Linked DNA regions of Homo sapiens: all the other regions are linked to region 3. Evidence: promoter capture Hi-C in human tissues and cell types (Jung and others, 2019). All regions are on one chromosome and are shown on one strand. The core of a region is centred on a gene start or on the middle of the fragment in contact, and the rest is flanking DNA. Distances in the headings are between cores, read along the strand shown. Region 1 overlaps RGL1 (ral guanine nucleotide dissociation stimulator like 1). Region 2 overlaps RGL1 (ral guanine nucleotide dissociation stimulator like 1). Region 3 holds the start of APOBEC4 (apolipoprotein B mRNA editing enzyme catalytic polypeptide like 4).

Region 1 (2,933 bases), core at 111-2,610, 160 kb before region 3:
TTTTTTGGACCCTGAGTCTGTCATATTCTGAAGACAACAGCATGAACTTCTGACACCAAAGCCCTTCCCAAACAGTTGAATTCTTTTCCTCTGTCCCTTTGAGTATTCATCCTGAAATGTTACACTTCCTGCTTCCAGAGGATACTGATATTTTCTTAACTCTTTTCTATATTATTCACTGTCCATATACAACCACAACACTGGGACCAAAGACAAATAACAAGTTTTGACACTTTGCTCTTCCAAAAATCACAAGATAAGTGAATGTCTGGGTGAAATTACTTCTTTTTTTAAGAGACAGAGTCTCACTCTCTCACTCAGGCTAGAGTGCAGTGGTGCAATCATGGCTCGCTACAGCCTTGACCACCCTGGCTCACGCGATCCTCCCACCTCAGCCTCCCAAGTAGCTGGGACTACAGGCACACACCACCACACTCAGCTAATTTTTTAATTTTATTTTTATTTTTAGTAGAGACAGGGTCTTGCTATGTTGCCCAGGCTGGTCTTGAGCTCCCAGCCTCAAGCAAATTAGCCTGCCTTGGCCTCTCAAAGTGCTGGGATTACAAGAATGAGCCACTGTGCTAGGCTCGGAATTGCTCTTTAATGTCTCTTCCAATCCTAAGATTTTTTAAATTTTGTGACATAATTGAAGTCATTTTTCTTCGAGAATTATAGGTGGGTAAAATTATCCCAGCCAAAGATGTTATTGTAAAGGGAAAATGGGTCAGTATTTCAATAATATTTGGTTTTTCAAAGTTGCCAATATAATCTCACCGTCAATGGGCAAGGATGCAGCTGCACGTACAAGTAAACTGGGCCTGGGACATACTTGGTTGTAGTTTTCCAAACACAGAGTTTTACTTTAAAAGATCAACTGAACACAGAATTTAACAGACAAAATAAAAAAGAATGACCTAAATGTTTTGGACTGTATAATACTTCACATCTGAGGATATGTAATTATTTTGCTCTCCTCCCCAAAATTGAATCTTAATTATGTTTTGAGATCTGAATACTAGAAAATACAAAAATTATGTTCCATCTTTTAGGCATCTGGAATAAGCATTACAGACACGTAACAAAGCTATGCCTATCCTCACATGCTACATAACCTCATACGTATCTTCATATCTTCAATGCACCCTGCTTTAAACCTCCAAAATGGGGAGTTTATCAGTGAGATCATAGCTTCGCAACAAATATCTCAATTTGCAGCTCAAGTTATCATTCTAGACATGAAGAAAAGAAAGTTACATCTCTCCAGTCTTGCAACATTAGGGAAAAGCACACCCAAAGCATCCTCAGTCTTTTGAGCCAATGTTCTTTTCTACTACTATGGAAACAGCCTTAAGGTCCCAGGAAATTCTTCACAACAAAGAGCCAACCATCTGGATTTGAATCTGGTGTTTACCACTTCATAGCTGTGTGACCCTGGCAAACAATTTAACCTCTCTGGGCATTAGTCTCCTCATGTTAAAAAAAAAAAAAAGAGAGAGAGAGAGATCATCACAACACCACCTTCCTCAGAAGGTTGTTGTCATATTGCAATAATTTCCTCACCTGACCCCACTCTCTAGTAACTCTGAAACTAGTTACTTTGAAGAATTTTGAAAGGGTACTGGAATACAGGAAAACAAACATGGGGAAGCCACTCAGTTCTAAAGAGAAAGGTTTGTAATTGCTATGGCTCAATGGGTTGAGTCACATTTAATTAAGTCTGGAATTTTCAAGGACAAAAACAGAACTTCCCAACAGGACACCTAAGACAAGAAAACACGTAGATTAGAGCTGGAGAGCCCCTAGGAACTTGCAATAAAGGAGTAGGCTGGTAGCAGTAAATCACACTTTGTTGAAATGGGGGCGAGGGGGACAGATTCCTCCATCAACTAGAGCCAATCTTTTCACATTATCCTCCTTCTCAGTATTTCATATCTACTGTTGAATCCAGGGTGAATTAACTCTGAACTCTGTATAAATTTGAGAACACTGAGAGAAGGGAGAGAGAAGAAAAGAAGTGAAGTCTAGTGAAGAGAACAGTCAGTGGGGATTACTAAATAACTCTGAGCATCTAAATACATGACAGTTTGTAGATGTGGGGCCTACAGAGTGAACCCCTCCATTTCCAATGACTTACTCATAACTAATGTTGTATATGGCTGAAAACTAAAACAGTCACCCAAGCAAAGTCAGTCTCATTAGAAAGAGAGGAATAACCTGATACCAAAAAAATGTAATGACCCTTTTGAAGACAACTGGTTCAGAAGTTGTGAATCATTCTGAAATAGCTAGAGGCCAAACCACATGGACGCCACATTTAAATAAAATACATACACACAACCACCAAAAACAAAGTGATGACTTGTCAGAACTCTAGTTCTGCTTTCCCTATCAGGTCTGCTAGTGATATACATAATTAATTTTAAAATCATATTCTGAGTAAGGTAGGTACTTGGTAAGTGAAGACCTCTAGTTCTCACTGGAAAGCTCCTATCTTTCCAGACCACACCTGCAGATGTCATTAACAATTTCTGGCCCTCATGGGTGATACCTTGGCCCAAAGTACAGTAGCAGGAAAGGCCTGAGCTGAAGCAGCTGGGGAAGCCCAAAGCAATGAATGCCTGTGTCAGCAGACTCATGGCAGAGGAAGTGATTGCTGCCGGCCATGGGCCACCATCCTGCCTTAAACTCCCTGGAGTTACAAGTCACACGTTACCACTACTCTTAACAGGAGGCCCTGTGCAATTTTGTGTCCTATCCTCCTTCACACTCCACCTTTGAATGCTGCTCAAAATATTCTGAATTTTCAGAGACTCCAAGCCGCTAAAGATGGGATGCAAGTGCATAAATCTTCAACACTCTGAAGCCCATCGGCTAAAATAAGGCCAGCCAGGTGAAATCACACTCCACCCCCTCTATTCAGCCAACCATTATTT
Region 2 (3,239 bases), core at 63-2,562, 180 kb before region 3:
AAGGATGGTATCTGGATGAGTACCAAAATTAAGCTGGTTCCAAGAGTAAAGATGGGCAGCACCAGAAGAGGCACTTGCACATGTGGCAAATTCATACATCGTCTGATCTATGATGGCATTTCTGGGCAGAGAAACCAGAAGAAATCTTCACCACCAGATTCACATATGTGCTGACATATGTACCTTCCCTCTAATTATACAAACATATCAAGGCTTAGACAGCGGTATGCTGGAGCCAGCTTGAACCTCTTGCACGAGCCAAATGTGCACACTCCTCACCTCTGCATTCAGTGGCATCATGTTGGTAGTGTGAGTTCAGACATGGTGACACTATTTACGCCATGAAAATTAGCAATGCTACAAATTAGGGTTTTTATTTTGGAGGGCCAGTTTATCAGCATACCCCTGCCCAGAAGTCCCTCTCAGATTGTGTCAGTGTCAAGAGACACCTTCACACTGGCTGAGACATTTTCTTTCTGTGTACGTTCCAGTTAAGGTATTTGTGTTGTCACCATGATCTTTATCTGATAGAAGAAGGGAATTACACCTCTGAACTATGAAGAAAGTAGAAATGTGGAGGCAGGAGAGGCAGAAGGGCATGTGTATGACAAACCAATGTGCTCTGAAAAAACTACACGAGCCCCAAGAGTTGACCTTGCTTGAAGCCACTTGTTAGAATGAAGCCACGTGGTCAGGCTTCTATGATGAATATCCTTCATCCTCAGGAAGATGTAAAGGGAGCTGTAATAACAAACAATAGCTAGTGTTTTATCACACAGAAATCCCATCCCCCTTTGCCATCCTGTCTCAGTAGGGTTTCCTAGATAGAGTCCAGGAACCCTCCTGAAGGAAACAGGAAGCTGTGTTTCTCATCTCCTGAAAAAGAGTAGTACTCCTGGAGTCTTGGTCCAACATTAATCCATAACAGATTCTATCTTCTCTAACACAAATCTCCATTTCTGACATTCTGGTCATCCTTTAAGGATTCCAAAGTTTCCCAGAAAGCAAATTTAAATATTAAGTGGATTTTAAGAAGTTTGCCGACCACATTTTTCAAATAAAATAATTTCACTTTCATCTGATACTTTTCTGCTTGAAACTCAGAATGCCAATAACTAAAGCAAGGGTCTCCAACCCCTGCACCATGGACCAGTAGCAGTCTATGGCCTGTTAGGAACCGGGCCTCACAGCAGCAGGTGAGTGGCAGGTGAGCCAGCATTACTGCCTGAGCTCCACCTCCTGTCAGATCAGCGGCGACATTAGATTCTCATAGGAGCGCCAAGCCTATTGTGAACTGCACATGCGAGGGACCTAGGTTGTACACTTCTTATGGGAATCTAACTAATGCCTGATGATCTGAGGTGAAACAGTTTCATCCTGAAACGAACACCCCTCAACCCCCGTTCATGGAAAAACTGTCTTCCACAAAACCAGTCCCTGGTGCCAAAAGGTTGGGGACTGCTGAACTAAGGCGTTATGAATTAACAGGTTGCATTTCCATTTGGAGCCAATTTACTGTCGGACCTAGGGCAAAAACTTAGTTTCAATGACTTCGTTACCTACTTTATAAAAGGAATACATCAATGCAATTTTGAGAAGTTCAAGGATTTAAGAGTTGCACGGAGGGAGAGGAGTTTGAATTAAAATAGTCACTGTTGCATTTGCCAAATAAGATCACAAATTGTCACATACAAATTAGTATCCAGAGTGAACTTCCAAAATTCATAGCTCCCTCCTTTTTCTCTCATTCAGAGCCTCAAATGTCCAAGGTCTTCATAAACTAAGGTCACAGGTTAACAGGTGCCCTGGCTTGCTTGAGTCCATTCTGTTTTTGTGCAGCCCAACCAATCTCTGTCTGTAAAGGTCAGCAGGGGGTAGTGAGCTTCTGTGTGACCTAATATTCTCTGTGAATGAAGCCTGCTATGAATGGAGAGGCTTCCCCACAGCCCAGAAGCTTTCCCAGCATGCCATAAATCCCACAGACAGCTCCATGGGGCTTTATCTCCTTGTGAGATTTATAAGTGCTCCTTCACCAATCCTCCAGGGAGAGTACGGGGAAGGGTAGCAACTAACTGATGTTTCCAAACTTTAAAGTCAAGTCATTAATTTTTGATTCTTACTCCGTATACCACATTAAGGAATCTTCTGCACTTTCCCTACCTAGGCGATTCCTATGGGAACATTTAGTTCCCACTGTTATGATTACCTATTATTGTAATGTTAAAAACCAAAGCCCCATTATCCAAAATGACAATAAAATTATTACTCCCCTGGATCTCGGAATTCAAGTAATAATGACGTTGTTTAGTTTGATCCCTTCCCCTCCAAAATGAAATATTTAAAGTCTATGTGGACTTATAAATTCAGATGTAAGATGTAGCTTTATGACTCACAAACCTCTGGGCTGCAGTGTCTCTGGCAAGTATTCTATCCCTCAGCACTGTTTTTGGCACGTATAATATTCCTAGATCATGGGCTTGCTAGAATTGGCTACTGATAAACCCACCAGGTGTCTTTCAAGCATGTTATTAGGTGATCAAACCTAGGGCAAAGTTCTATGAAAAACAGTTGCGTGTATCCTGAGTATACCTCTTTGAAACATACACTGAAGGCTGGGCGCAGTGGCTCACGCCTGTATTCCCGCACTTTGGAAGGCCTAGGTGGGTGGATCACCTGAGGTCAGGAGTTCGAGATCATCCTGGCCAACATGGAGAAACCCCATCTCTACTAAAAATACAAAAAAATACAAAAAAAAAAAAATTAGCTGGGTGTGATGGCGGGTGCCTGTAATCCCAGCTACTCGGGAAGCTGAGGCAGGAGACTCGCTTGAACCCAAGAGGCGGAGGTAGCAGTGACCTGAGATCGCGCCATTGCACTCCAACCTGGGCAACAAGAGCAAAACTCCGTCTAAAAAAAAAAGAAAAGAAAAGATACACTAAACTGGCTTTTTTTCTTAATAGGTTTTCTTCTTCATAAGCTATACATTAATTCTAAGAAAACCATTCTTAGACTGTAAATGAAGAAAGAAGGCTAACTTGTATTTACTGAGTGCACATTATGGATTAGATGCTCAACCCTTACAACAACCCTGTAGTGTAGGAATTATTCCCACTTAAGGAAACAGAGGTTTGGAGAAGTAAGGGGTCACACCCAGAGTTACCCAGCCAATTAGCATAGGCATTAAAGCAAGGATATAAAACCAGCCCTGTCTTTCAATCATGGAATATTCCCTAAAAACA
Region 3 (3,207 bases), core at 409-2,908:
GAACAGGAACCATGGTAAAGGCCTTTCATTTCCTCCTGATGAAGTTTAGTCTTAAAAGTCATTCTGTGCAACCTAAATGGAATGTTGCCAACTTAACATTCCTTGGAGTCTTCCTACATCTAACAGACAACTACCTTTAAAGAATAATGACTAATTGGGGTTGCCTATCCCTAAAATCACCCTAAAATGCAATTGATAAATGTGCTAGTGGACAAAGGCTCATTTTTCCTGTTTCTTTAGGCTTAACCTTCCATAGGTATATCATTTGCTGAGCATCTAATCCACCATGGAAGGTGCACAGTGCACATGGGATGCTGGTGCAGATTTGGGGACTATATTTTTTGTCTTTTCCTCCCCTCACTGGAACCTGTCAGACAGCTAATACTTTCTTACAGAACTGAGCAGGCCCTCAGAACTTGATTCTTCAGCTAGCGGGAGAAAAACCCCAACATGTTCTCTTCAACAGTCAGCTATTATCCTTTCACCCAGCTTTTGATAAGTAATATTTTTAAAGTAATGTTTGCAATAGATTGTCATTTATTAGGATTAAATAAAAGATGAGCTATGAGGATTGACTTTCAGTTCCATATTTACAAGTTCATTCAGTTAGAAGATGCAAGCAATGAGAAAAAAGGGATGACCCATGGCAAACTGTGGGGAAGGGACAGGATGCAGCAGTGACCATGTGCCAGAGCAAGCACCAAGGAAGATGAAACTGAAAATAACCAGCTGAGGAGTTCATGAATACACCTGAGGCCCTTAGGAGACAAAAACATCTCGTCTAGTAGGAGCACTCTGGATGAGAAAGGATGTGTGCTGTGGTGCAGACTGGAAGTCTGACAGTGGAAACAGGCGTGGCGAAGCTTCGAGAAGACAGAAGGTGCCCTCTGGGTGCTCAGTATCCCTGAGTTATTTTTAGAGTATGTCTGCTTACAGCCAATAGTTATTACTGGAATGTACACAATAGCAATCCCCACTCACTCCTTCAGGTGGCCTGGGAAAGGGGAATGAGGGAATAATCCAGAGTGATTGACAGTGAATTGTGACTATCAATGTGCCTTGTGTCTAGGAGATGATGTGGGGGTCAAGGGAGACTAAGGAAAAGAATGGAGAAGGACAAGTGGCTCTTCCGTTAGCCACAGAGAAGGGGCTACAACCGATCCTGGAACAAATCTTGTCTTAAACTGGAGGGAACCACATACATACCAATAGCAAGAGTCTTCCAGGCAATTTCTAAGAGGAGGGAAACCGCTAACACATAGCCTAGGTTTAGACAGAATCAAAAACACCCCCTTCAGGGACTATGGGCCTCTTGGAGGAAGTCAACTCTCTGCTCCCTCTCACAGAGGGCAAGCCTCCCAAGGAGAAGCCCTGGCACCCACGCAGGCAACAGAACCGCCAGGCCTGGCACCTACTCTAGACCAGGAGAAAGGTGCTGAGGAGCAGGCCCTCAGAACTTGATTCTTCAGCTAGCAGGAGAAAAACTGCAACATGTTCTCTTCAACAGTCAGCTATTATCCTTTTACCCAGACTGGGATATGCAGTCCTGTATATTTTCATCTTTGGAACAGGTGGCTTGATATGCAAATAAAGTAATAAGTGTCAGAGCTGTATCCTAGCAGTAGCTACTTTGCAAACGTTACCATGGCACCCAATCAACAGTGTTCTTAGAGGTAGCCACACCTCAGCAAGGGCTTTCTAACTTGGAACAGCAAAGTTCAAATGAACGAATAGACACAAACTGTGAAAGAGTCCTGAACCCATTACAAGGTGAATCTTTACAGCACAATTGCCTTCTGAAGCTACTTGAAACAGGGCATGGGACTTAAAGGAGAAAAAAAAGGAAATGGACCATCTCTTCTAACACCTGGAATGTGATCCAAGCCTGGAGACAAATTGATGGTAATTATAACTGCTAACATTTGTTTTTAGCTGCTAACAGATTGTGCACAGATTGTGAAGGGCAAACTCCATTCTCCAATTACTCCAGTGCAAACTGTGCTTTAACAGTACTCACTAAATCCTAGTTGAGTGAAATGAGAGCAGATTGTCCTTATGGTGTGGTTCATTTATGTTAAACTATGGAAAGCTGTCCTCCCACGGTCCCAGTCCAGGGGCCACTCACAGCCAGATGCAGAGAGCCCTCCAGCACGCTGGGCTCTACACATCTCTGTTCTTACTGCCAGCAAATCTGCTCTACAGAGTATAACATGTATTTCCCAAGCACAGACAAAGCAAAAGGAAAAGGGCTAGGCAGGAAGTAGGGACACCAGCTGCTGGGGAAACAAGTCTTAAGCAACCTGGCTTGTGAGCCAATCAAGGTTGCTAAGGTAGGTCCTGGGCCTAAACAGGGTACATTTCCACCTGGTTGGGGAGAATAAAATGACAGATACCAAAAGTTAACAAGATAATCTGTGGTCGATAACAAATTGATACAATAAACCATGAATTCTCTAAGAGTTCAAAGAGGGCAACAGTTCTTTCCTGCTTCCTCTTCAGATGAGGGTGATCAAAGAACAAGCCCAGAAAGACTCTGAAAAAGTGAAAACTTCACCAATAGGAAACTATAGTTGGTTGACACTGAAAAGTTGTCAGCAAGAATGAGACTACAGAGCTCCCTCCACTATGTGTTAAAGCCACAGTCCTCTCCATCTCCTTAAAGACAGTAATGATGTATCATTTCTGGCTAAAACAGCCACAGAAGATGGGGGTGCAAAGGAAGGCGTGCTTAGAAAAGCAATAGGGAGTTTCCATTTTGCTACCTTTATCTAAAAACACACAAAGACTTTTGTTTCCCAAAAGGGTAATTATGGGACCATTATATATAGTTAACTCCACATACACATCACCTTAAGAAATAGTAATAAAGACAGAAAAGTGCCTTTTGGTTCTGTTTCCATAACATTTAGCCAAATCAATCTGTAAATTGTCTATGGGTGAGTTGAAATTGTAATCTGAGCAGTAACCTGGATGTCCGGTGTACCACCCATAAGTCGACCACATCAAGGGCACAATATTAAAAAGCATGAAAGTTTGGGCTTGGTTTTGGCAAGTTCTGATGGAGAGATCCATCCAGCCTGATGAAGGCTAAGCAAGGAGGAGGTCCAGAGAGGAAACAATGCTCGGGAGTAAGCAGGAAATGGCGTCAGGTTCCAAGAGATCGTCCACTGCCAAGGGTTAAATCCAGCTCTCTAGAAGGAAAGCTAT

Evidence for each region. Contacts are between HindIII fragments. The study calls those that stand out against the background at their distance.
Region 1: a contact is called between a fragment that was not itself captured here and the fragment with the promoter of APOBEC4 in region 3, in 1 of the 25 tissues and cell types used here (mesenchymal stem cells).
Region 2: a contact is called between a fragment that was not itself captured here and the fragment with the promoter of APOBEC4 in region 3, in 3 of the 25 tissues and cell types used here (dorsolateral prefrontal cortex, hippocampus and mesenchymal stem cells).

Annotation. Positions count from the first base shown.
Region 1 is chr1:183,807,318-183,810,250 of GRCh38, reverse strand. The region is part of intron 2 of RGL1 (ral guanine nucleotide dissociation stimulator like 1); the gene reads right to left. Among named protein-coding and RNA genes, the nearest start is that of RGL1, 3.7 kb to the right of the region's middle. RefSeq lists an enhancer at 2,659-2,708. The HindIII fragment of the contact is 5,243 bases long and covers 1-2,933 here.
Region 2 is chr1:183,835,939-183,839,177 of GRCh38, reverse strand. The region is part of intron 2 of RGL1 (ral guanine nucleotide dissociation stimulator like 1); the gene reads right to left. Among named protein-coding and RNA genes, the nearest start is that of RGL1, 32 kb to the right of the region's middle. The HindIII fragment of the contact is 5,221 bases long and covers 1-3,239 here.
Region 3 is chr1:183,651,767-183,654,973 of GRCh38, reverse strand. APOBEC4 (apolipoprotein B mRNA editing enzyme catalytic polypeptide like 4) reads left to right here and starts at 1,658. Exons shown (of 2, transcript NM_203454.3): 1 at 1,658-1,902. It also overlaps a transcript of RGL1 not described here. The HindIII fragment of the contact is 3,396 bases long and covers 167-3,207 here.